4 separate regions of the Homo sapiens genome follow, and all the other regions are linked to region 1. The links are contacts of gene promoters, found by promoter capture Hi-C in blood cells and fetal thymus (Javierre and others, 2016). All regions are on one chromosome and are shown on one strand. Each heading gives the region's core, a stretch centred on a gene start or on the middle of the fragment in contact. The rest is flanking DNA. Distances are from core to core; before and after follow the strand shown.

The links. Contacts are between HindIII fragments. The CHiCAGO score rates a contact against its expected background, and 5 or more counts as called.
Region 2: a contact is called between a fragment that was not itself captured here and the fragment with the promoter of PTRH2 in region 1, in 1 of 17 cell types (activated CD4 T cells). The highest score is 6.1, in activated CD4 T cells.
Region 3: a contact is called between a fragment that was not itself captured here and the fragment with the promoter of PTRH2 in region 1, in 1 of 17 cell types (activated CD4 T cells). The highest score is 9.1, in activated CD4 T cells.
Region 4: a fragment that was not itself captured here is called in contact with the fragment with the promoter of PTRH2 in region 1 in 8 of 17 cell types (activated CD4 T cells, monocytes, M2 macrophages and 5 more); the score reaches 13.5 in activated CD4 T cells.

Annotation. Positions count from the first base shown.
Region 1 is chr17:59,704,261-59,710,444 of GRCh38, forward strand. It overlaps PTRH2 (peptidyl-tRNA hydrolase 2), which reads right to left and starts at 3,170. Exons shown (of 2, transcript NM_016077.5): 1 at 3,111-3,170. VMP1 (vacuole membrane protein 1) reads left to right here and starts at 3,394. Exons shown (of 12, transcript NM_030938.5): 1 at 3,394-3,488. RefSeq lists enhancers at 1-29, 2,984-3,639, 3,440-3,499. The HindIII fragment of the contact is 5,892 bases long and covers 1-4,396 here.
Region 2 is chr17:59,940,698-59,946,881 of GRCh38, forward strand. RPS6KB1 (ribosomal protein S6 kinase B1) reads left to right here. Exons shown (of 15, transcript NM_003161.4): 13 at 139-246; 14 at 4,709-4,821; 15 at 5,854-6,184. The coding sequence ends at 6,091. Among named protein-coding and RNA genes, the nearest start is that of RNFT1, 21 kb to the right of the region's middle. The HindIII fragment of the contact is 2,408 bases long and covers 2,759-5,166 here.
Region 3 is chr17:59,916,267-59,922,450 of GRCh38, forward strand. The region is part of intron 4 of RPS6KB1 (ribosomal protein S6 kinase B1); the gene reads left to right. Among named protein-coding and RNA genes, the nearest start is that of RPS6KB1, 26 kb to the left of the region's middle. The HindIII fragment of the contact is 1,413 bases long and covers 1,494-2,906 here.
Region 4 is chr17:59,871,129-59,877,312 of GRCh38, forward strand. TUBD1 (tubulin delta 1) reads right to left here. Exons shown (of 9, transcript NM_016261.4): 6 at 3,411-3,575. Among named protein-coding and RNA genes, the nearest start is that of TUBD1, 19 kb to the right of the region's middle. The HindIII fragment of the contact is 6,927 bases long and covers 1-6,184 here.

The DNA of each region.
Region 1 (6,184 bases), core at 1,920-4,419:
AAGAAAGGGAGAAGTTAATAATGACAGCTAGATTTGAACAAATGGAGAATTTTGGTGAAATACCAGGTTTGAATGGAAAAGATAATGAATTAGTTTTGTTCTGAACAAAAGACATCTCAGAGATATCTAGAAAGAAGAAAAAAAAGGATATATCAGCTTAAAGGACAGAAAGGTCTAGGATATATCAGTTTAAAGTCAGAAAGGTCTGGGCTGGAAATATAGATTTGAGAGACCTTACCATATAATTGAAGTTACTGAAGAGATGGAAGAGTATGAGGCCACTTGGACAAATATGTAGAATGAAGAAAGGACTAAAACATAATCCTGAGGAAATGAACATTAGGAATCAAAGGAGACTGACATGGAGTGGCCAGGAGTAGGAGGGTCACATAGGGTAAGCTGTAGTGCACCTAGTTTCAGTGCTCTTCCACTCAAGTGCCTAAATACGGTGACAGGGCTGCACAGACATAGTATTTATGGTTCTAGTGCCTTTACAGCCCCCACCCCCTAAAAGAGACAAAGACAGAGAATTCTTTTTTTTTTCTTAAGACGGCATCTCACTTTGTCACCCAGGCTGGAGTGCAGTGGCGCCATCTCAGCTCACTGCAACCTCTGCCTCCGGGTTCAAGCAATTCTCCCGCCTCAGCCTCCCACGTACATGGGATTACAGGCACCCGCCACCACACCTGGCTAATTTTTGTATTTTTAGTAGAGACGGGGTTTCACCATGTTGGCCAGGCTGGTCTCGAACTCCTGACCTCAAGTGATCTGCCTGCCTCAGCCTCCCAAAGTGCTGGGATACAGGCATGGGCCACCATGCCTGGCCAAGTTTCTATTTGATGCTTACATATCAGCAGGACTTTTCTTTGATAATCTAACAACCAGACTCCAAACTGAACAAATATGCAATGTCAGCAATTAGGATTCTCTGAAATAATTTCTAGGCTGCAAAGTAACCAAATATCCCATACACTACATTCCGGTACTATCTGGAGAAGGAACTGCTCTACATAGAGAAGCTATTATGTGCTGGATAACATACTAAATCCTTTATATCCATTACCTCATTTATTGTTGCTATGAACACATAAAAAGGAAGATATATTAGCCTCATTTTAAAGATGAGAAATATGAGGATCAAACAGAGAAGTTGCCTTTTTCTTTATTTTTTTTTAAAGAGAAGGGGTCTCCCTCTGTCACCCAGGCTAGAGTTCAGTGGCATGATCATAGCTCGCTACAGCCTCAAACTCCTGGGCTTAAGCAATTCTCCTACCTCAGCCTTCCAAGTAGATGGGACTACAGGTGCATGCCACCACACCCTCCTGATTTTTTAAAAATTTTTTATTTTTGTATGGACTTGGTCTTGCTATGTTGCCCAGGCTGGTCTGGAACTCCTGGCCTCAAGGAGTTGCTTGAGGTCGAGGCAGCAGCATCTCGAGTCCAGTTCAAAACCAATCTGGGCAACCCAGTGAGACCTCATCTTTACAAAAAATTTAAATAATTAGCCAGATGTGGTGCCACATGCCCATACTCCCAGCTACTCAGGGGATAAGGTAGGAGGACACCTCAGGCTGGGAGGTGGAAATTGCAGTGAGCCATGATCGTGCCACTGCACCCCAGGCTGGACAACAATGCAAAACCCTGTCTCCAAAAAAAAAAAAAAACCCAATAAGATCAAAAACAGGACAGTGAAAGTTCCAAAAGTTACCAAGTTTATTTATTATGTCCCATATCTCAATGGAGTGTCTAATCATAAAAATGCTAAAATTAACACATATTTTTGTTCTTTAGGATGTTCTAATCTCATATTAATCTGATCAGATTATCATCTAACTCCTCTAAAACAACATGTCTGTCTCTTTTTCTGTACACTTACGACAAGCGTATCAATAAGCCTAGTGCCTAAGACTAAGGTAAAACAAATAACCATTCTTTGTCTCATAAATAATTCTGGGCAATGACAGCAGAACAAAATAAGTACATCCTATAAAATCTTCTTCTTGGTGCCTTCTAATTCCCCTGCCTCAGTAAACCCATTTCAGTAGTGCTCTTGATCCCATTACCTCCTTCTGCACCATGCTCCACCCGTTAATCTTTTTTTAAGAGACAGGGTCTCACTATGTGGCCCCCTATGTGGCCCAGGCTGTTCTCAAACTCCTGGGCTCAAGCAATCCTCCTGTCTCAGCCTCCCAAAGTGTTGGATTACAGGCTGAGCCACCGCGCCGGGTCTGCAGTTTACAACCGAAAAAAACAAACAAACCTTTCCCAAATCTTCTCTGACCCTTAAGCCACTGCCCCACTTTCCCTGTATAACATATTCCCAGAGTCTAGTATGGTGCCTGGGGTATGTCAGTAAGGATTAATACCTCTCTAGTTAATCTCTTTGTGTGAAAAAGGGGGGAAATTTTTTCTTTCTTTTTTTTTTTTTTCTGAGACGAAGTCTCACTCTGTCGCCCAGGCTGGAGAGCAATGGAGCGATATCGGCTCACTGCAACCTCCGCCTCCCGAGTTCAAGTCATTCTCCTGCCTCAGCCTCCCGAGTAGCTGGGATTACAGGCACGCGCCACCACGCCGGCTAATTTTTGTATTTTTAGTATAGATGGGTTTTCGCCATGTTGGCCAGGATGGTCTCGAACTTCTGACCTCAGGTGATCCGCCCACATCAGCCTCCCAAAGTGCTGGGATTACAGGCGTCAGCCACCGCGCCCGGCCCCAAATTTTCGACTATATTCTTAGAAACCAATTCTTTCCACGCAGAGCTCGACAGCTCGAAACGCTGGGGATATTCATAAGTGCCCAGCTGAGGGTATGAGGCCTGCTCGCTATTTTATCAATTTCGGAGAGAGCGCATCGATACTGCCTGCCTGGAGGCTTTGCTGGGAACTAGAAATTCTGAGTCTTCCCCTCCCCAGCAGCCTGTTCCTTTCCTCCAAAGGACGGTTCGCAGAACAGGAACAGAGGGCTCAGCGGCCCCTGGGCGGAAGACAGTTTATAAAGGAGAAAATGAAGAAGGTGGGTAATGCAACGAGGTGAAAAGAAACGTTCCTACTGGCGAGAAAATGAATAATGATATTGGTCTCCTTCGCCCTGTAAGGAGCCAACCAACCTACCTACAGTACCTCCTTTCCTCACTCGCGCCTTCCCTTCTTCTGGGCAGCGAACACGTTTCTATCGCGTGAGCTACCTCTTCCGGGGTTCCTGGGTGACAAGTTCCGGATCAAGAATCACAAAGCGAGCAGTCATTCTTCCTCTTGCCACACCCACAGGGCCCGCACTAAGAGCCTAACTGAAATCCCGCGAGGATCAACCGAGCTCGCCGAAAGGAGGGAGGAACGTATCCCTTCTGGAGGCTGTCTCAGGGGGCAGAGGGACCGGACCGGAAGTGACGTGAGCGGGTTCCGGTTGTCTGGAGCCCAGCGGCGGGTGTGAGAGTCCGTAAGGAGCAGCTTCCAGGATCCTGAGATCCGGAGCAGCCGGGGTCGGAGCGGGTAGGTAAACTAACTCAGGGAATTGGGGACCGAAGCCTGAGGCTGTCCTCAGAGCTTGGCGTCTTCCGGAGCTCTCCCACTTAGGCATTGCGGATCTGGGGCACTGTGATTCCGACTTCCAGCAGTGTTTTAGGACGCTGCTGACTGGATGTCTCACCCTGGATGTCTCACGCTGGCGGTAGCCAGGTTATTTGGGACACCTTCTCATGGTTGGTCACCCGGACATTGAACCCAGACACCGGGCTGTTCGTTCTCCTCTCCGCGTACTTGGAAGCCTTGCTAGGCTTCTTTAGAGAACCTCTTAGTCCCGGGATGTCCAGGACCTTGGAGTAAGTGGAGAAGGTCTTCCCTGCTGATGACTGAGCTATTTCTCAGGATCTGTCAGTTTGGTTTTTGCTCTCCCGAACCTCTGGCGCATGATGCTAGATGTATTCGCTCCTAAACGAAATCCAGGCGTGCAAGTGCCATCTAAAGCTCTGGTGGTACAGGGTAGCCAAGGGAATGGGCCTTCGCTCCGCAGAGCCCTTGGAGAGGAACTTCTCAGATTTTTCACTGCTTTAATGAAAAAGAGTTGTCTGCCTTTCCAAACCCCTGAACCCCGACCTCTATATCTTATTACAGTGGAGGTATTTGCAGTAAAACGTGAAGGTCGACTTAATCTCTAAAATTCCAGAAACCATATGTGGCCCTGTGTCACACTGCTAGATTACTTATGACCTCCAGAAGATTTTACACAATCATCTTTTATTTACCTGCAACTCCATGTAAAAATCTAATAATACACGTAGACTGGCCACTGTTGATGTGTTTTGGCAGCATCGCTCCTTATCCTAATGTTAACGTCTTTCATTTCTACTTTGGGGCTTGTCAGAGATTTTTGTGGACAGATTACATTGATCATTTGAAGAAGCTTGTACAAGTGTTTCTGGTGTTGTCATGATAGAATTTAATATTCCAGTTGCTACTACCTAGTAATTGTATTGTCATTAGCTCTGATTTTAGTTGTGTATTCTTAGCATAGATGATGAAAGGAAGAAACTTACTTACTAGGCATCATTGTATGCATTGTAGCTTATGTTTTTACTGTGGAAGAGGGATGGTGGTACCTAGACAAATGTGACTGATTTGTGTAGGTATGAAGTGACTCTCTCGAGTAGAAATTTTATATTTTACTACTTTGCCTACATTATCTTAAGGCACTGAAGGTTACTTTTTTCCTTTGAGGGATATATCCTACTTGATTACAATTGATTAATACAGTTTAATTTCTATGAGTCACATTCCAGAAGAAAATATACATAGAACCATGATGCCTTTTACCAGTTTACCTATAGCTAGTTAAATCAGTTTGTCAGTTTACATATTTTTCTTATTTTGAGTTTGAAAATTTGTTCACGCTTGGCTTTGAAACAAGGTGACAAAATTTGAGATATGGAATTATGATAGATGTATCATTAGTTTAACATTCGGTAAATTTGCTTCTTGATTATATAACTGCCAAATCTGATCTTATCTTCTTTATGTTCAATTGAAGGACTGATTATCCAGTTTTTCTCACTTTTCCAACTTCTCGCTTTTGGCTTGAATCACCACTTTTTAGGATTTTGGTAACTATTAAACTTTAAATCAGAAGACCTGGATTGAAGTCTGGGCTCCAACACTTGTTAAGTAATGGCTGATAGGTTACCTAACATTCTGAGCTGGTCTAGATTGTGTTGATAAAAATTCTGCTCACTTTCTTTCATACAACTGTCACAAAGATTAAATGAGCTAGTAAACATGAAATTATTAAATATGAAAATATGGTATCACTTTACTCTTAGAACTGGAGATATGTCAGTGTAGAATACTGTTACTTTGCATCATTATCTGAAAATATTATCACATACTTTTCTGAGATGATCTTTGCCCCACCTTTGAAAGTTAGCAAAGAATAGTTTGATACCGTGATCCATTGAATTAGTCACCATGGTTAATAAATAGGTTCCTGGAAAATGAGTATAGTTTTGCATTCGGGAGTTTAAATCTGATCCTTTTTGGTCGTCATGTATTGTCACTTCAGAACTTCCAAGTGCAGAAAAAGCTGAAGTTTTTTGCCTACGTATAGTTAACTAAAGAGTAGAAGTAGTCCTATCTTACTTACATTAAATAAGAAACCTTATTATTGGGCCGGGCGCGGTGGTTCACGCTTGTAATCCCAGCACTTTGGGAGGCCGAGTTGGGCGGATCACGAGGTCAGGCGATCGAGACAATCCTGGCTAATACAGTGAAACCCTGTCTCTACTAAAAATACAAAAAATTAGCCGGGCGTGGTGGCAGGCGCCTGTAATCCCAGCTACTCCGGAGGCTGAGGCAGGAGAATGGCGCGAACCCAGGAGGCGGAGCTTGCAGTGAGCCGAGATTGCGCCACTGCACTCCAGCCTGGGAGACAGAGCCAGACTCCGTCTCAAAAAAAAAAGAAACATTATTATTTCACTGAAACCAATATTTAGAATTAGAAGGAATCTCTGTGAATGTATAAGTAGATTCCCATTTAACAGAGGAGAAAATTAAGGCTCAGAAACAATCAGTAATTAGTAATTGGCTTGCTTGAGGTCATCTGGCTTAGGTAGTGCTAGAACCTGAACTGTAAGGTCTCAAGTGTTCTTTCTGTTCTAACAAGGTTGTATCCAGGCATCTTATTATGGTTTGGTAAT
Region 2 (6,184 bases), core at 2,713-5,212, 240 kb after region 1:
CATTCTGTGCCTGCTAAGACTATTCTAATACTTTATTATAGTTAACCCCCGTGAAAAGAGCTCCCAGAGCTTACAGTGCATTTGATTGATGTAACATGGACTATTTATTATTTTCTAAATTATTTTGTTTGTATAAAGCAATCTGAAGAGGATGTAAGTCAGTTTGATTCCAAGTTTACACGTCAGACACCTGTCGACAGCCCAGATGACTCAACTCTCAGTGAAAGTGCCAATCAGGTCTTTCTGGTAAGTGAAAGAATTTCCATGTAGTCATGGGAAATTTTAGTGTGAGGATGGGCTCTTCAAAGAAAATTCAGTTTGCTTGCTTTGCAGTTCATGTAGGTAACCTGGCCCACTTTTTTTTTTTTTTTTAAATAAGCCATGCCTTTATAACTTATTGATGCCTACAAAATTTATTTTCATAATCCAACATTTTATTTTAGCAATTAGAGTGGGAATGTACAAATCTTTGGAAAGTATGATTCCCTTTTTTTTTTAGGCCACAGACTTAAAATGATGTTTGGCTTAGCATCTCAACCAAAAATTAGTCATAGCAGTCGGGGAGAAAAACCTCACTGACTACATGTATTTTATTCCTGAAACAGCTATAGATTTTTGGTACTTTTTTTTTTTTTTTTTTTGAGACAGGGTCTCACCTTGTAGCCTAGGCTGGGTGTAGTGTAGTGGTGTGATCACAGTTCACTGCAGCCTTGACCTCCCAGGCTCAAGTGATCCACCCATTTCAGCCTTGTGAGTACCTGTACCACAGGTGTGTGCCACATGCAGCTAATTTTTTATTTTTTTGTAGAGACAGAGTCTCACTATTTTACTCCTGGACTCAAGCTATCTTCCTGCCTTGGCTTCCCAAAGTGCCAAAATTATAGGCATGAGCCATCGTTCCTGGCCCTATTTTTGGTACTCTTAACATAAGTAGGGGATTTTTTTTTTTTTTTTTGAGACGGAGTCTTGCTCTGTCACCAGGTTGGAGTGCAGTGGCGCGATCTCAGCTCACTGCAACTTCTGCCTCCTGGGTTCGAGTGATTCTCCTGCCTCAGCCTCCCGAGTAGCTGGGACTATAGGCGTGCGCCACCACGCCCAGTTAATTTTTGTATTTTTAGTAGAGACAGGGTTTCACCATGTTGGCCAGGATGGTCTCGATTTCTTTTTTTTTTTTTTTTTGAGAAGGAGTCTCGCTCTGTCGCCCAGGTTGGAGTGCAGTGGCGCAATCTCAGCTCACTGCAAGCTCCACCTCCCGGGTTCACACCATCCTCCTGCCTCAGCCTCCTGAGTAGCTGGGACTACAGGTGCCCGCCACCACGCCAGGCTAATTTTTTGTATTTGTAGTAGAGACGGGGTTTCATCGTGTTAGCCAGGATAGTTTTGATCTCCTGACCTCATGATCCGCCCGCCTTGGCCTCCCAAAGTGCTGGGATTACAGGCGTAAGCCACCACGCCCAGTCGATGGTCTCGATTTCTTGACCTCGTGATCCACCCGCCTTGGCCTCCCAAAGTGTTGGGAATACAGGCATGAGCCACCGTGCCAGGCCAAGTAGGGGATTTTTTTAACATTAATTGTGAATATTTGACATCAAAACATATTGGTTCATATGTAATAGTGAATTCTCATTGTAGAAATGTCTGTATAGATTTATAGCTTGTCTCCTCAGAAAAGTAAAGGTTTTTGATGTTGGCCAACAGAAATGATGGATTTATATCAGAAGACCATGAATGCATACTATTTTGCTCAAATAGCACATATGCTTGTTGATTTTATTACTGTACTTAATATGTCACATGAACATCTATCTCATTTTGTATCCTTTTTTTTTCTTTTGTCATTTGTTTTTGGACTACTCTAGGGAGAATAGAATATGGGGAAAATAATTGTTTGGGAGTGTTTTTTCCCTGTTTTTGAGTTCACTGGATTTGTCACTAACTTAATTCTTAAGCTTTTCTTCCCCACATTGCTCACTATGTAATACAAGTAGTGTTGTATCTTATGGGATGGGAAATAAGCTCTAAAGTTAGCATGGAGTTGGGGCATGGTGGCTTATGGCTATAACCTTGAGGTCAGGAGTTCAAGACCAGCCTGGCTAACATGGTGAAACCCCATCTCTACTAAAAGTACAAAAATTAGCCAGGTGTGGTGGCATGCACCTGTGGTACCAACTACTTGGGAGGCTGAGGCAGGAGAATCACTTGAACCCGGGAGGCAGAGGTTGCAGGAGCCAAGATTGTGCCACTGCACTCCAGCCTGAGCGATAGAGTGAGTGAGACTCCGTATCAAAAAAAAAAAAATTAATTAAAAAAATTAAGTTAGTATGGGATGCAAAAGTTGTGTATAGTACAGTATGGTTTTGAGTAAACAACACTGAATAGTAATAATCCTATAAATTAATATAGAGCACATAGGCAAAATATAGTCTTACAGTATTACATAAGAGATAAAAGATGAGTGAGTGCATGCATGTTTTTAAATTCAAGTTTGATGTGTGCATGATCAAAGTTACGGCATCTCTGTTAGTAAAATCTTAGGTTCAGTTAGGGAAGTGGGCATGAATCACTTTAATTTTGGCATTTTTTTTCTCTCATGTACTACAGATGTGGAATTTATACCTTTGATTTAACATAGAGACCTTTTCCTCAATTGGACATTGCAGAATTTCAACTTATGTGACAGTTTTCCCCCCACAAAATAGAAGCATTTTATTTAGCTGCCAAGAAATCCAAAGTTGTGGTGGTAAAAGTGAGATATTGAAGCTTTCGTTGCCAGTTAAAGTATTGTTGAGCTTTTCACAATTACTTAAATTGGCTAATGAATAGAGCAACTCATTTGTTAGGTTGTAGCCAGAATTCTCTACATAAAGTGGATCTCTTTAAACATTAATAAAAAAAAATAGGTCAGGTGCAGTGGCTCACGCCTGTAATCCCAGCACTTTGGGAGTCTGAGGTGGGCGGATCACAAGGTCAGGAGTTCCAGACCAGCCTGGCTAATATGGTGAAAACCCATCTCTACTAAAAATACAAAAATTAGCCAGGCATGATGGCTGTAGTCCCAGCTACTCGGGAGGCTGAGGCAGGAGAATCGCTTGAACCCGGGAGGAGGAGGTTGTAATGAGCTGAGATCACGCCCCTCACTGCACTCCAGCCTGGGCGACAGAGCTAGAATCCATCTCAAAAAAAAAAAAAAAATTATATATATATATATACACATATATATATATACACACATACATACACACACACATATAGTGACATCCCACTTATCTGGATAATGTGGTTCTAGCAACCTCATTTCAACAAATATTTTAATTCCTGTTGTAAGACCCCATCACAGAATTAGAGGAAATTCAAAGATGATTAAGGCACAGCCTGTACCTCTTGGTAGTTACAGCTTTAGTCCACCAGAACGTTTGTAAAATTATTCTCTGAAGTTCACATATAACTGTCACAAATCATATGCACTTCAGAATTGCACCTCACTCTTTGGGACTTCACTCAGAGCTTTGCTGAGTCTTATTTATTGTAACACATAATGCTTACTCATAGATTTTGATAAATAGAAGATAGGTGAAGATGGTTAAAAGAATGAACATTGACAGCTAGAGAAATGACAGCTGGTAGCCTAATAGTAAGATCCAAGAGAGAACTAAAATGAACAAAACTGCATTTTTGCCTATTACAACTGAAGGTTTTTGAAATGTTGATACTTATTCATCAAGAAAACACCAAATTCTAGCTGGGCAGAGATCACACGTGCCTATATAGTCACAGCTACTTGAGGGGCTGAGGTGGGAGAATAGCTTGGGTCCAGGAGTTTGAGGCTGCAGTGAGCTATGTTATCACCACTGCACTCCAGCCTGGGCAATATAGGGATACCCCATCTCTTAAAACAAAACAAAAAACGAATTCTGTCCAATCATTGGCGTAAAACCAGAAAGATCACAAGATCTGACTTTGATGCCAAGTCAGAAAATTGTTTTTACTTTGGTCTGATTATAAGAAACTGTTTTAGGGTGATAAACTTAATTGCTTATATGCCTGTGGCTAGAAACACTAGAAGTTTCTTTACATTTCTCCTAGTATTTAACATCTTTTTTTTTTTTTTTTTTAATTTTTGAGATGGAGTCTTACTCTGTTGCCCAGGCTAGAATGCAGTGGTGCGATCTCTGCTCACTGCAACCTCCACCTACCAGGTTCAAGTGATCCTCCTGCCTCAGCCTCCCGAGTAGCTGGGATTACAGGCGTGCACCACCATGCATGGTGGTGTATTTTTGTATTTTTAGTAGAGACGGTGTTTCACCACATTGGCCAGGCTGGTCTTTAACTCCTGACCTCAGGTGGTCTGCCCGCCTTGGCCTCCCAAAGTGCTGGGATGACAGGCGTGAGCCCCCGTGCCTGGGCGTATTTAACATCTTCATATGGAGCCTGAATTTTCCTGTTTTTTTTTCTATTCCTGTCAGTAGGGTAGAATTTTGTTTGCTAGCATATCAGGCTCAATGGAATTCTGCTTTCTTGAAGTGTGTGCCTCACGAAATGGCTGGAAAGAAGTTAACGGGTCTAAAAATGAGGTTGAGGACGTGGGAGAGTGTACACATTGGTGGTTTTAGGTGTGCATCATTGTGTAGGTATGTCAGACTGAACAACCCCATTCTCTTGAGATACATGACAAAATGCCATTCTGTAGTCCACTGTTACTGTCTTTCAGGGTTTTACATATGTGGCTCCATCTGTACTTGAAAGTGTGAAAGAAAAGTTTTCCTTTGAACCAAAAATCCGATCACCTCGAAGATTTATTGGCAGCCCACGAACACCTGTCAGGTATTTCACACTCTTATTTTCACTTTTTTTTGTTTTTAAACAACCTACAAGAGTGTTTGCTTAAGAAGTTTATGCCAAGTTATATAAATGAAAGACTGTCATACTCTCTTTGGTTGACATAAGCACAGCATCTATATCTTACATTGCAAAGGACTAGTCTGACTAATCTATGATGTTATATGGTTTACCTTCCCTCCCAAAAGTAAGCAGCCATACTGGCAAATGTCCTCTTTATCCATTCACTCAGCATTTATTGTGCACCAAGAGCACCAGCACTACATACTGCATGTTATGTGTGTGTATCTATATAGTACTATAATACAGGAATTGTCCCTGTCCTGATGAAGCTTACAATTTAGTGGGAAAGTCACAATAGACAAAGGATATACAAAAATATAATTACAAGTAGTGCAAAGTGCTATAATTTAAAAGGGGAAAAAAAGAATGTACTGGTAGAGAGCAGAGGAAAAACAAGGGGGCTTCTACTCACAGTGATCAGAGAAAGGCCTCCCTGGTGTAGTAACATCTAGCAGTGAACGGAAAGAGCCAGCCCTACAAAAATAGGAGGTATAAGAATGTTGCAGGCAGAAGAACAGCAAATGCAAAAACCCTGAGGGAGGAGAAAAGTTGCCCTTTTCCTGGAAGTGAAAGGGAAATCAGTGTTCCTGGAGTGTGTGGTGAGTGAGGAGAAGGGCAGAGGTTTGGAAAAGTATTTTATTTTAAATGCAATAGAAAGCTGTTTTGAGCAGGGGAGAGTAAAATGATATATATAATACGCATTTAAATGTATATATATCTCATTGAGGGTTTTGGGGGTCAGGTGTAGAGGTAAAGAGACCAGTTAGGAAATTCTAGCAGTTAATCTAGGTGGGGGAGAGATGGTTCAATTTTTGCCTTTGTGCTAATCCACGTGAAAATAAAATTAAATGAAAATAAATGTCATGTTACCCCACTCCCTTTAAACGTAAAGGAAATATGTCTTGTTGAGATGACCCTTAAGCAAATGAATGATAGCTCTTCCTTGTCTTAAAGCCCAGTCAAATTTTCTCCTGGGGATTTCTGGGGAAGAGGTGCTTCGGCCAGCACAGCAAATCCTCAGACACCTGTGGAATACCCAATGGAAACAAGTGGCATAGAGCAGATGGATGTGACAATGAGTGGGGAAGCATCGGCACCACTTCCAATACGACAGCCGAACTCTGGGCCATACAAAAAACAAGCTTTTCCCATGATCTCCAAACGGCCAGAGCACCTGCGTATGAATCTATGACAGAGCAATGCTTTTAATGAATTTAAGGCAAAAAAGGTGGAGAGGGAGATGTGTGAGCATCCTGCAAGGTGAAACGACTCAAAATGACAGTTT
Region 3 (6,184 bases), core at 950-3,449, 210 kb after region 1:
ATTTTTGTATTTTTAGTAGAGATGCGGTTTCGCCATATTGGCATGCTGGTGTCGAACTCCTGACCTCGGGGGATCGGCCCGCCTTGACCTCCCAAAGTGTTGGGATTACAGGCGTGAGCCACCGAGCCTGGCAGTATTAACTTTCTTTTATGCGAGTTAAGGATTTGTTTCTTGTTTACTTCACCCTCCTTTATCCTCATCCTCTCATTTTGTTTTGCTTTCTTTGAATCTACTATTGTCCTCTGATGTCTTCCAACAACTTTGTAAAACACCTTTCAGTCTAATGTTCTTTGATCAGGCTTATAAGATAATCTATCAGTTCCATTTATTTCCCAGAGGCATATCTTAGGAACTTTCTATCCACCTGTTCCCATCTGGAGTGGTAGCTCTTTAGTCACAACTGTTATGACTGGACTCTTTCTTCACCACAACCCTGGAATCCTCTTGGCTCCTTCAGTGTTGGATCTTTTGTTTCCTGGATCCCATATCTTCATTTTTTCCCTTTTTCTTAGTTTATGTCCTTGTTTTGGTGACACTATACTAGTGGCTCCCTCAGACAAGGTATATAAAGATACATTTATAATAAAAATATATCCATATTGCATATTTGAGAATTTCTTTACATTTTTATTTACTTGATTGTTTATGTTATTGGAGTTGAAAATTATTTTCACTTAGAATTTTGCTCAGTTTTCTTCTATTCTTGAGAGTTTCTGTTGAAGTGCTTTGGCATTCTGATTCCCAGTCGTTTACACATGGCCTATTTTTTCTGTGGAAATATTTAAGATTTTCTCTTTATTTCTGATCTAAGTTTTTATAGTGATGTGTGTTGCTTTGACTTTGATTATTATTTTTATTTAGTTAGTTTTTGAGATAGGGTCTCGCCCTGTCACCTAGACAGGAGTGCGGTGACACAATTATAGCTCAGTGCAACCTCAAATTCCTGGGCTCAAGCTATCCTCCCACCTCAGTCTCCTGAGTAGCTGGGACCACAGACACGCACCACCAGGCCTGGCTAATAAAAAAAAATGTAGAGATGGGCACTCACCATGTTGCCCAGGCTGGTGTTGAACTCCTGGGCTCAAGTGATCCACCCGCCTCGGCCACCCAAAGTGCTGGGATTGGATTACAGGTATGGCCCACTGCGCCCGGCCTATTTAATTAAATTAATTAATTTATTTATTTTTAAGAGACAGGGTCTCACTCTGTTTCCCAGGCTGGAGTGTGGTGGTGTGATCATACTTCACTGTAACCTGTAACTCCTGGGCTCAAGCGATCCTCCTGCCACAACTTCTGAGTAGCTAGGACTGCAGATGCATGCCACCACGCCCAGTTCATTTTTAAAATGTTTCGTAGAGACAAGGTCTTCCTGTGTTTCCCCGGCTGGCCTGGAACTCCTGGCCTCAAGCAGTTGTTCTGTTTTGGCTCCCAAAGTGTTGGGATTACAGGCATGTGCCACTGTGCCCAGCCTATTTTTATTCTTTTAATCTTAAAGCTTTAGTCTTTCAGTTCTAGGAAATTTTCTTATGTGATTTATTTGGTAATTTCCTTCCCACTGTTTTCTCTTCTTGGAATTGCAATTAGTTGGATGTTGGATCTCCTGGACCGATCATCTAATTTTTCTTATCTTTTCCACGTTTCCATTTCTTTGTCTTGTTTACTTTCTTCTACTCAATTTTTTTTTGAGATGGAGTTTTGCTCTTGTTGCCCAGGCTGGAGTGCAATGGCGCAATCTTGGCTCACCGCAACCTCCGCCTCCTGGGTTCAAGCGATTCCCCTGCCTCAGCCTCCCGAGTAGCTGGGATTACAGGCATGTGCCACCATGCCCGGCTAATTTTGTATTTTTAGAAGAGACAGGGTTCCTCCATGTTGGTCAGGCTGGTTTCGAACTCCTGACTTAGGTGATCCGCCCGCCTTGGCCTCCTGAAGTGCTGGGATTACAGGCGTAAGCCACTGTGCCCAGCCATTTGACTAAATTTTTTTTTAAAGCTGTTGTATTTGTGATTCTCCAGAATTCTTTCTGTTGTTTTTGTTTTATAGCAACCTGTTTAATGAGTATAATATCTTCTCTTACCCCTCTGAGAGTTTTATTTTTTTTTAATGTTTATTATTATTTTTTTGAGACAAGAGTCTCACTCTGTCGTGCAGGTTTGAGTGCAGTGGTGCGATCTTGGCTCACTGCAACCCCTGCCTCCTGCGTTCAAGCGATTCTCCTGCCTCAGCCTCCTGAGTAGCTGGGATTACAGGTGCCCGCTACCACACCTGGCTAATTTTTGTATTTTTAGCAGATATCGGGTTTCATCATGTTGGCCAGACTGGTCTTGAACTCCTGACCTCAGGCAAAACGTCCACCTCGGCATCCCAAAGTGCTGGGATTACAGGTGTGAGCCACCACGCCCAGCCTCTCTGAGAGTTTAATTATAATTATTTGAAATGTTCTTTTGTTTTACGCATGTTCTTTTTTGACTTTCTGTTTTCTTTGACTTTGATTTAGTCAGTTTTAGTCACTTTGTTCCATGTTAGAGGCCTTCTTTAGATGTCTGGTGTCATTCACTGATTATTCTTTTTTTTTTTTTTTTTTTTGAGTTGGAGTCTTGCTCTGTCGTCTAGGCTGGAGTGCAGTGGCACAGTCTCGGCTCACTGCAATTTCCACCTCCTGGGTTCAAGCGATTCTTGTGCCTCAGCCACCCAAGTAGCTGGGATAACAGGCATGTGCCACCCTGCCTGGCTAATTTTTGCATTTTTAGTAGTGACAGGGTTTCGCCATGTTGTCAGCCTGATCTCGAACTCCTGACCTCAAGTGATCTGTCCACCTAGGCCTCAATAACCCATCCACTGCGCCTGGCCTGATTATTCATATTTAAGAGTAGAACTCTGAAAAGCTGATCAGAAGTTCTGTGTGTGTAAGCTTCTCTGCAGGGTAGTCAAGTGGTTAGCTGGCACTTGATCAACAACTTCAAATAATAGTGTCTGTAGGGCTGGGTGTGGTGGCTCACGCCTGTAATCCCAGCACTTTCGGAGGCTGAGGCAGGTTGATCACCTGAGGTCAGGAGTTCAAAACCAGCCTGGCCAGCTGGTTTGGGGGCGCTGAGGCAGGAGAATCGCTTGAGCCTGGGAGGTGGAGGTTGCAGTGAGCCAAGATTGCACCATTGTGCTCTAGCTTGGACAACAAGAGCGAGACTCCATCTCAAATAAATAAATAAGTAAATATTGTCTGTAGATCTTTTTTTTTCTGGGGAGGATCAGTTGGTGCTAAGAAAGTTCTGCCATTCATTTGCCTGGAAAAAGCATTCTGGAGCTGAGTGAGAGAAGATGGAGATCTTACCTCTCAACACGCGGACTTTCACTAAACTCGAGTTTTTACATTAGTACTTTACTCTGTGGATCTAATCTTTCACTTTTTTTTTTTGTCCCGGGGAATTTAACTCTCCTAGGGTTAGTTCTTCGACTTAGTATGGAGATGGGAGCCTTTTTGGTCTGTCTGTTCCTTACACAGACTTGTAGATGATCTCCCTGTTTTTAGCACTCCACCTTCTGCCTTCTACAGTCTTCAGTTCCTTTAATTTTTTCCCTTCCTTCTAATTTTTCCTCTAATGTTTGAACCTTGCTGGGGTTCTATAGATAGATTCAACTTCTTTTGTGTATTCCCCTTTGCAGGCACTTAGGTTTGATCTTACCCCACTCTGCTACATCATGGACCATTGCTTTATCCCCACTCTGTCTTTTCAGGTGTGGGATTCCACATGTCTTCTAGTTTTACTGATGGATTATGTGTGTGTTTGTTTTCTTATTCTTGTTTGGGATTGATTACTGAAAAGATTCCACTGTCTTTTTTTTTTTTCCTGGGTTCAAGTGATTCTTCTGCCTCAACCTCCTGAGTAGCTGGGATTACAGGTGCCCGCCACCACACCCAGCTAATTTTTGTATTTTTAGTAGAGACAGGGCTTTGCCATGTTGGCCAGGCTGGTCTCGAACTCCTGACCGCAGGTGATCCACCCTTCTTGGCCTCCCAAAGTGCTAGGATTACAGGCATGAGTCACTGCGCCCGGCCTCCACTGTCTTAAAACAAAAGTTCCAGTGGAGAACTACTTTAAAGACAATCAAAGTGACTTTTTAAAAAAATTATAAGACTTGTAAAACTTTGGTCCTTCTTGCTGATTTTTATTTAAGCAGTATAAATGACTCCTCAGTTTGAAAGCTGAGGAACAAATACTGTGACCACAATTTTATTGGTAATTGTCTTTAAAAAGCCATCTAGCTATTCTTCACATCAGTTTCTTCTTCAGTGGGTTGACATTGATATCAGCTATTTGACTTTCCTGTTGGAATTGTTTTAGATTAATGATTTTTTAATCTGTAAAACATGTTAGGTATAGAATTGAAGGCAGCATAATAGTGCTTGTCCCAGAAATGTGAAAAGAAGTACTGGTCAAGATTTCTTCTTTTATTTGAAACAGAGTCTCACTACATCACCCAGGCTGGAGTGCAGTGGAGCGTTCTCAGCTCACTGCAACCTTTGCCTCTTGGGTTCCAGTGATTCTAGGGCCTCAGCCTCCCAAATAGCTGGGACTACAGGTGTGTACCACCACGCCTGGCTAATTTTTGTACTTTTGGTAGAGACAGGGTTTCACCATGTTGGCCAGGCTGGTCTCAAACTCCTGACCTCAAGTGACCGCCCACCTCAGCCCCCTAAAGTGCTGGAATTATGGGCGTGAGCCACTGCGCCCAGCCTCTGGTCAAGATTCTTAACTGATTCATTCCTTGTGATGTGTTATTTATGTCGGATAATCAGGCCTGACCATATTAGGCATAATTAGATCTTGGGTGAAGTATGTTTTTGGCACAGGTATCTAGTGAAAAAAAGAGTGCTTGTTTTTTTTCCCCACTCATGGTGGGTGGGGTGGTATATTGGGAAATCCATAGACTTAATTACTGCTAAGTGTCAGGCCTCATTCTGGGGCCCAGGGATCCAGGACCTAAGCTGTTTGCCTCTGCTTTTGCTTGGTTGCCATTGTTTCCCATTCTTGGGGTTCTTTTCTTAATCCTGGCTAGAGGATCTGATACTGTCTCCTTCCTTGTCCTTGAAAGCAAGCTCATAGCAAAAATAATGAAAATAAAGATGTCATTAGGGTTAAGTTCAGGGCTTTCATTTCTAAATCCCCAAGTAAGATGACTATAGGCTCCCTTTGAGTTCCTTCCTTCTGATTTTAATTATCCTGGAGGCAGAGTACTAACCCCTCTGACCTGAGTGTGTGGTAAGTGTATACCTCTTCCCCCAGACTTTAAGATGAAATCAGAGTAGAACCAGGTATCCCCTTAAGTGAGTTGTTTCAATCTGGACATTCTGTCTGGATTTATTAGTTCTCCTGGGACTGTTTACTTCTTATAGGAATGGTACCATTCAGGTATTTGCTTAGAGTGGAATAGTGAGGAAAAGACTATCAACAGCCATCACCCGACCCTACCAGTTGCAGCAAAAATATACCATGGAAGCAAAATACTATTGCCTACGGCATTAGTTCACCTCCCACTGTACATTTTAGAACCTTTGGCCAAAGGTGTTCTCCACCTCTGAAATATTGCGGTTTCATAGAACAATAACTTTCTCACTTTTGACTTACTTGATTCCTACAATGCCTGTTTTTTGGCCCTAAGCCCTTTAGTTAATAAATTTTAGTTAATAAATTTTCCTCATGTACAATTTGAGAGTTAACTGCAGATTTCATAGCACTTCACCCCTAATTTCATCTATACATCTCCTAAGAATAAGGGCATTTTTTTTTTTTTTTTTTGAGAAGCAGTCTCACTCTGTTGCCCAGGCTGGAGTGCAGTGGTGCAATTTTGGCTCACTGCAACCTCCACCTCCTGGGTTCAAGCGATTCTCCTGCCTCAGCCCCACAAGTAGCTGGGATTACAGGTGCCTCCTACCACGCCTGCCTAATTTTTGTAATTGTAGTAGAGACGAGGTTTCACCATGTTGGCCAGGCTGGTCTCAAACTCCTGACCTCAGGTGAGCCGCTCTCCTCGGCCTCCCAAAGTGTTGAGATTACAGACTTGAGCCTCCGTTCCCGGCCTCTTTTTCCTTTTGTAGTTAACAAGTGATCTGTGGAATGATAGAAACGGTGTGAATATTCTGTCCTATAATAATCTTTACTTAATGGTTTTATCTGGATTGTTTCTTGCC
Region 4 (6,184 bases), core at 2,095-4,594, 170 kb after region 1:
TGATTCCCAACCTAGAATCCTATCCCTGGCCAAACTATCATTCAAATGCAATGGCAGAACAGAATTATGATATTTATTTATTTTTGAGACAGGGTCTCGCTCTGTCGCCGAGGCTGGAGTGCAGTGACACGATCTCAGCTCACTGCAACTTCCCTCTGCCTCCCAAGTTCAAGCAATTCTCCTGCCTTAGCCTCCTGAGTAGCTGGGACTACAGGCGCCCGCCACCATGCCTGGCTAATTTTTTGTATTTTTAGTAGAGACGGGGTTTCACCATGTTAGCAAGGATGGTCTCGATCTCTGACCTCATGTTTCACCTGCCTTGGCCTCCCAAAGTGCTGGGATTACAGGTGTGAGCCACTGCACCCGGCCAGAATGAAGATATTTGTAGCCTCAAACATTTTAATTTCCTTGTACTCTCTTAGGGAGCTCCTGAAAGGTATGGTCCATCAATATGAGGGAATAAATCAAGAAAGCAGATTTGAAATCTAGGAGGTACAGATATAAATCAGGATGAGGCAAGCAGAGATGCCAGGGCTGGCTGCTTATCAAGCCTAGAGAGCAGTCAGTCCAGAATGGAATGGGAAGATAAATGCCTTCCAGAAGATGTCTCTAGGCAGATAATGGAAGTAATCACTTACCTGATGGGTTTAAACATATTAAGAAAGAATTCTTTTTTTTTATTTTTGAGACAGGGTTTTGCTCTGTTGCCCAGGCTGGAGTGCAGTGGCATGATCACAGCTCATTTTAAACTCAAATCCCTTGGTTCAAGGGATTCTCCTGCCTCACCCTCCCAAGTAGCTAGGACTACAGGTGCATACCACTATGCCCAGCATTTTTTTTTTTGAGACAGAGTCTCGCTCTGTTGCCCAGGCTGGAGAGCAGGGGTGTGATCTCAGCTCGCTGCAACCTCTGCCTCCTGAGTTCAAGCCACTCTCCTGCCTCAGCCTCTTGGGTAGCTGGGATTACAAGTGTGTGCCATCACGCCTCGCTAATTTTTTGTATTTTTAGTAGAGATGGGGTTTCTACTACATCCGTGTTAGCCAGGATGGTCTCGATCTTCTGAACTTGTCCGCCTCGGCCTCCCAAAGTGCTGGCTCACAGGCGTGAGCCACCCTGCCGGGCCAGCTAATTTTTTTAAATTATTTTTTTAGAGATGGGGTCTTGCTTTGTTGCTCAAGCTAGTTTTGAACTTCTGGCCTCAAGCGATCCTCCTGCCTTAGCCTCCCAAAGTGCTGAGATTACAGGTGTGAGCCATCACATCTGAGAAGGGATTCATTTTTTTACAGAAAAGTTTCAGGATAAGTTGGTAATAGGTACAGAAAATATCAACTGAATAAATATAATGATTAACAACTCCAGGAGGGAAAAATAAACTGTACACACAAAAAAATATAATCTATGTACACAAGGCTCTACTCTGAATAATATTTAGATAGCAAAAGTAGTACAAACATTGAAAACTGATCTAACTCCCAAGTATGTTAGAAGAATGAAGGTAATTGTGTTTGTATGTGTGAGTATGTGTGTGAGTGTGCACATGTGTCAGTATATATATGAAAATGGGAATGTGTGTGTGTGTGTGTGTGTGTGTGTGTGTGTGTCTGTGTGTGTAGAGGGGGTGTAAGATGATTCAATTCTCAATTTTTTTTTTTTTTGAGATGGAGTTTCACTGTTATCACCCAGGCTGGAATGCAATGGCACTATCATAGCTCACTGTAACCTCTGCCTCCCGGGTTCAAGCAATTCTCCTGCCTCAGCTTCCCAGGAATTACAGGCGACTGCCACCACGCCCGGCTAATTTTTTTGTATTTTTTAGTAAAGAAGGGGTTTCGCCATGTTGCCCAGGCTGGTCTCGAACTCCTGACCTCAGGTGATCCACCCACCTCAACCTCCCAAAGTGCTGGGATTACAGGCGTGAGCTACTGCGCCCAGGCCAATTCTCAATTTTCACACTAGGAATGCAAGAGATAACAATATAAGTAAGACATTTATAACTATGGAGGCAAATTGTAGATGAAATAGCTAGACGTTGAAAGTAGTTTCATCTGTGTAATGGGGAGGTGTAGGATTGCTGTTTTTCCTTGTCATAAATTCATACCAGACATTACTTAAGTTGTTTTTTGTTGTTGTTTTTTTTTTGAGAAAGGGTCTCACTCTGTCACCCAGGCTGAAGTGCAGTTGTGTGATCACAGCTCACTGCAGCCTTGACCTCCTGGGCTCAGGTGATCCTCCCACCTCAGCCTCCTAAGTTGCTGGGAATACAGGCCCATGTCACCATGTCCAGATAATTTTTTATATTTCTTGTAGAGATGGGGTTTTGCCATGTTGCCCAGACTGGTCTCGAACTCCTGGGCTCAAGCGCTTCTCCTGCCTTGGCCTCCCAAAGTGCTAGGATTATAGGTATGAGCCACCATACCTGGCCCATTACTTGACCTTTTAAAAAACTGAGATATAGGCCGGGCGCAGTGGCTCATACCTGTAATCCCAGCACTTTGGGAGGTCGAGGTGGGTGGATCACAAGGTCAGGAGTTCGAGACCAGCCTGGCCAATATGGTGAAACCTCATCTCTACTAAAAATACAAAAAAATTAGCCAGGCATGGTAGCACACGCCTGTAATCCCAGCTCCTTGGGAGGCTGAGGCAGAAGAACTGCTTGAATCCGGGAGGCAGAGGTTGCAGTGAGCCGAGATCGCGCCACTGCACTCCAGCCTGGGTGACAGAGCGAGATTCCATCTCAAAAAAATAAAATAAATAAAAAATAAAATACTGAGATATAATTGGCCGGGCACGGTGGCTCACTCTTGTAATCCCAGCACTTTGGGAGGCCAAGACGGGTGGATCACGAGGTCAGGAGATTGAGACCATCCTGGCTAACACGGTGAAACCCCGTCTCTACTAAAAATACAAAAAATTAGCCGGGCGTGGTGGCAGGCGCCTGTAGTCCCAGCTACTCGGCAGGCTGAGGCAGGAGAATGGTGTGAACCCGGGAGGCGGAGGTTGCAGTGAGCTGAGATCACGCCACTGCACTCCAGCCTGGGCGACAGAGCAAGACTCAGTCTCAAAAAAAAAAAAAAAAAAAAATTGAGATATAATTTAAATACAGTGCAATGTATGGATTTAAGTATATATTTAAATGAGTTTTGGCTACTTGATTTTTAAAACTATGTTCACTTATTTGATTAAAATAAAAATTTAAAAAAAATCTGGCACTCATTTGAAATGTCTTTTGGTAATGAAACTGTGAAGTGATTAAGAAACCCTCCTAAGATGTCCTGGTGAGTTTCTGCCGGAGTCTCTCTAGCCAGAAAAAGGGACCATTATTTAAACTGGTCCAAGCCAGTTTATATTGAGACTCCAGGACAGACATTTTTTCCAGCTTGTGGGCTGCATATTTTTGGACTACTCTTTACCTTCTTCCATCTTTGCATTAGAAATGAGCATCTGTCTCAAATGCTTGAGGAGGCCAGCCCAAGTAAATGTGGTGTATGCCAATGAATTCTCAGACATGTGAGGAATGTTACGAACACTCAGCATCTTGAATTCAGGATGGGGAACTAAATGCTCCATTAAGTCTCCTGTAAAGAAAAAAAAATCTGAACTAATTTTTTTTTATTCTACATTGTTGCCAATAGTCTATATATAACCATGATTTGAAGGTTTTCTGGGCCAAATGTTTTTTCTCTTCTCAGACCAGAATTATTTAATCTTTAATATAAATACAATTTCAGAGACAATGTCTATTACACACCACCTCTTTGCTTCATTTTAGCACTGACTTGAGCATGAGTGAGAAAATACACTTTGCCAAAAAGCAAACTACAATTTAGAAGCTGAATAACTGGAAATGTGAATGAAATATTTAGGTAAACTCCAGGCAAACAAAGTAAACATGAGAACTGATATGCTTTTCTTGTCATTCTATGTTCACTAAATATTGTTATATTCTTTTTTTTTTTTTTTTTTTTTGGGATGGAGTCTTGTTCTGTCGCCAGGCTGGAGGAGTGCAGTGGCGTGATCTCGGCTCACTGCAACCTCTGCCTCCCACGATCAAGCGATTCCCGTCTCAGCCTCCTGAGTAGCTGAGACTACAGGCACGTACCACCAAGCCCAGCTAACTTTTTGTACTTTAGTAGAGATGAGGTTTCACCATGGTGGCCAGGATGGTCTCGATCCCCTGATCTCATGATCTGCCTGCCTTGGCCTCCCAAAGTACTGGGATTACAGGTGTGAGCCACCGCACCCACCCTACTAAATACTCTTTTAGAAATGTTACTAGATTTTTACATACCGTATCTGGTTAGGTGATAATCAAACCCTGTTAACATGAAAGTTAATATAAGCCAGGCACGGTGGCTCACGCCTGTAATCCCAGCACTTTCGGAGGCCTAGGTGGGCAGATCATGAGGTCAGGAGTTTAAGACCAGCCTGGCCAACATGGTCTTGGTCTTAATAGAAACACTGTTTCTATTAAAAATATGAAAATTAGCCAGGCGTTGTGGCAGGCACCTGTAATCCCAGCTACTTGGGAGGCTGAGGCGGGAGAATCGCTTGAACCCGGCAGACAGAGGTTGCAGTGCATCGCACTCCAGCCTGGGCGACAAAGCAAGACTCTGTCTCAAAAAAAAAAAAAAGTTAACATGAAACTCTATTTGGAAAGAAGACAAGATTAGATATTCCTTAAGATAGGAATGTGCCTATCTTTAGAAACTTGTATTTACAATGAAATAGAATTAAGGAGAAAGGGTACTTTCCTTTACATTTACAGCTGTCTCATATGTTTATAGAAAATACCTTGAGGATAGGGAAAAATATATTACCATAATATGAAACAAACTTTATAACACTGAGTACAAACTCATAATGTACATCCTAAAGAAAAGAACAAATTTTGACACAAACATCTATAAGATGCTACACAGGCGGGCTTGTGCTAATGGAGTGTCCTCTAAATGTAGAATTCTTTTCTGTAAAATACCTAGAGTTGAATTCTATTGCATAGCACAAGTAAATATAGAATAGTCAGAAAATAATTCATGAGCACTAAGGCATGAATTCTTTTTTTTTTCTTTTTAGACAGTGTTTTGTTCTGTTGTCCAAACTGGTGTGCAGTGGCGCAATCAAAGCTCTGCAACCTCGAACTCCCAGGCTTAAGCAATAGCCCCACTTCAGCTTCCCTAGTAGCTGAGATTATAGGTGCACACCACCATGCCTAACTGTTTGTTTTTTTTTTGTTTTTTTTTTTTTGAGATGGAGTTTCGCTCTTATTGCTCAGGCTGGAGTGCATTGCATGACCTCAGCTCACTGCAACCTCTGCCTCCCAGGTTCAAGCAATTCTCCTGCCTCTGCCTCCCAAGTAGCTGGGATTACAGGCATGTGCCACCATGCCTGGCTAATTTTGTATTTTTTTTAGTAGAGACAGTGTTTCGCCATGTTACTTAGGCTAGTCTCGAACTCCCAACCTCAGGTGATCTGTCCGTCTTGGCCTCCCAAAGTGCTGGGATTACAGGCATGAGCCACCACACCCGGCCACTTTTTAAATTCTTAGTAGAGATGAGGTCTTGCTATGCTGCTCAGGCTGGCTTCGAACTCCTGGCCTCAAGCGATCTTCCCACCCTGGCCTCCTAAAGCACTGGGATTACAGAAGTGAGCCATGGTGCCCGGCCAATGCATGAATCACTAATTGTTGCAATCTGTTCTCCCTTCCAGCTTTCTTGTTCAGCTACTCTTACCTTAACCATTCTTTTTTTTTTTTTTAAATGGAGTCTCGCTGTCGCCCAGGCAGGAGTGCAGTGGTGCAATCTTAGCTGACTGCAACGTCTGCCTTATGGGTTCAAGCAATTCTCCTGCCTGTCTTCTGAGTAGCTGGGATTACAGGTACCCACCACCATGCCTGGCTAATTTTTGTATTTTCTGTAGAGCTGGGGTTTCACCGTATTGGCCAGGCTGGTCTCAAACTTCTGACCTCAGGTGATCCACCCTCCTCAGCCTCCCAACGTGCTGGGATACAGGCGTGAGCCACCACGCCTGGCCACCTTGACCATTCTTAAACCTCCTTGAGACTTTAATCCATGGAGCACCTGCCTTTCAATCAATCAGTCTTCCTCTTTCTGGCAAAATCCCAGTCTTCGGCCAACCCTGCTCCTCACCTTCTCTGTCAGAGCACAACTACGGAAAGTCATGCCAC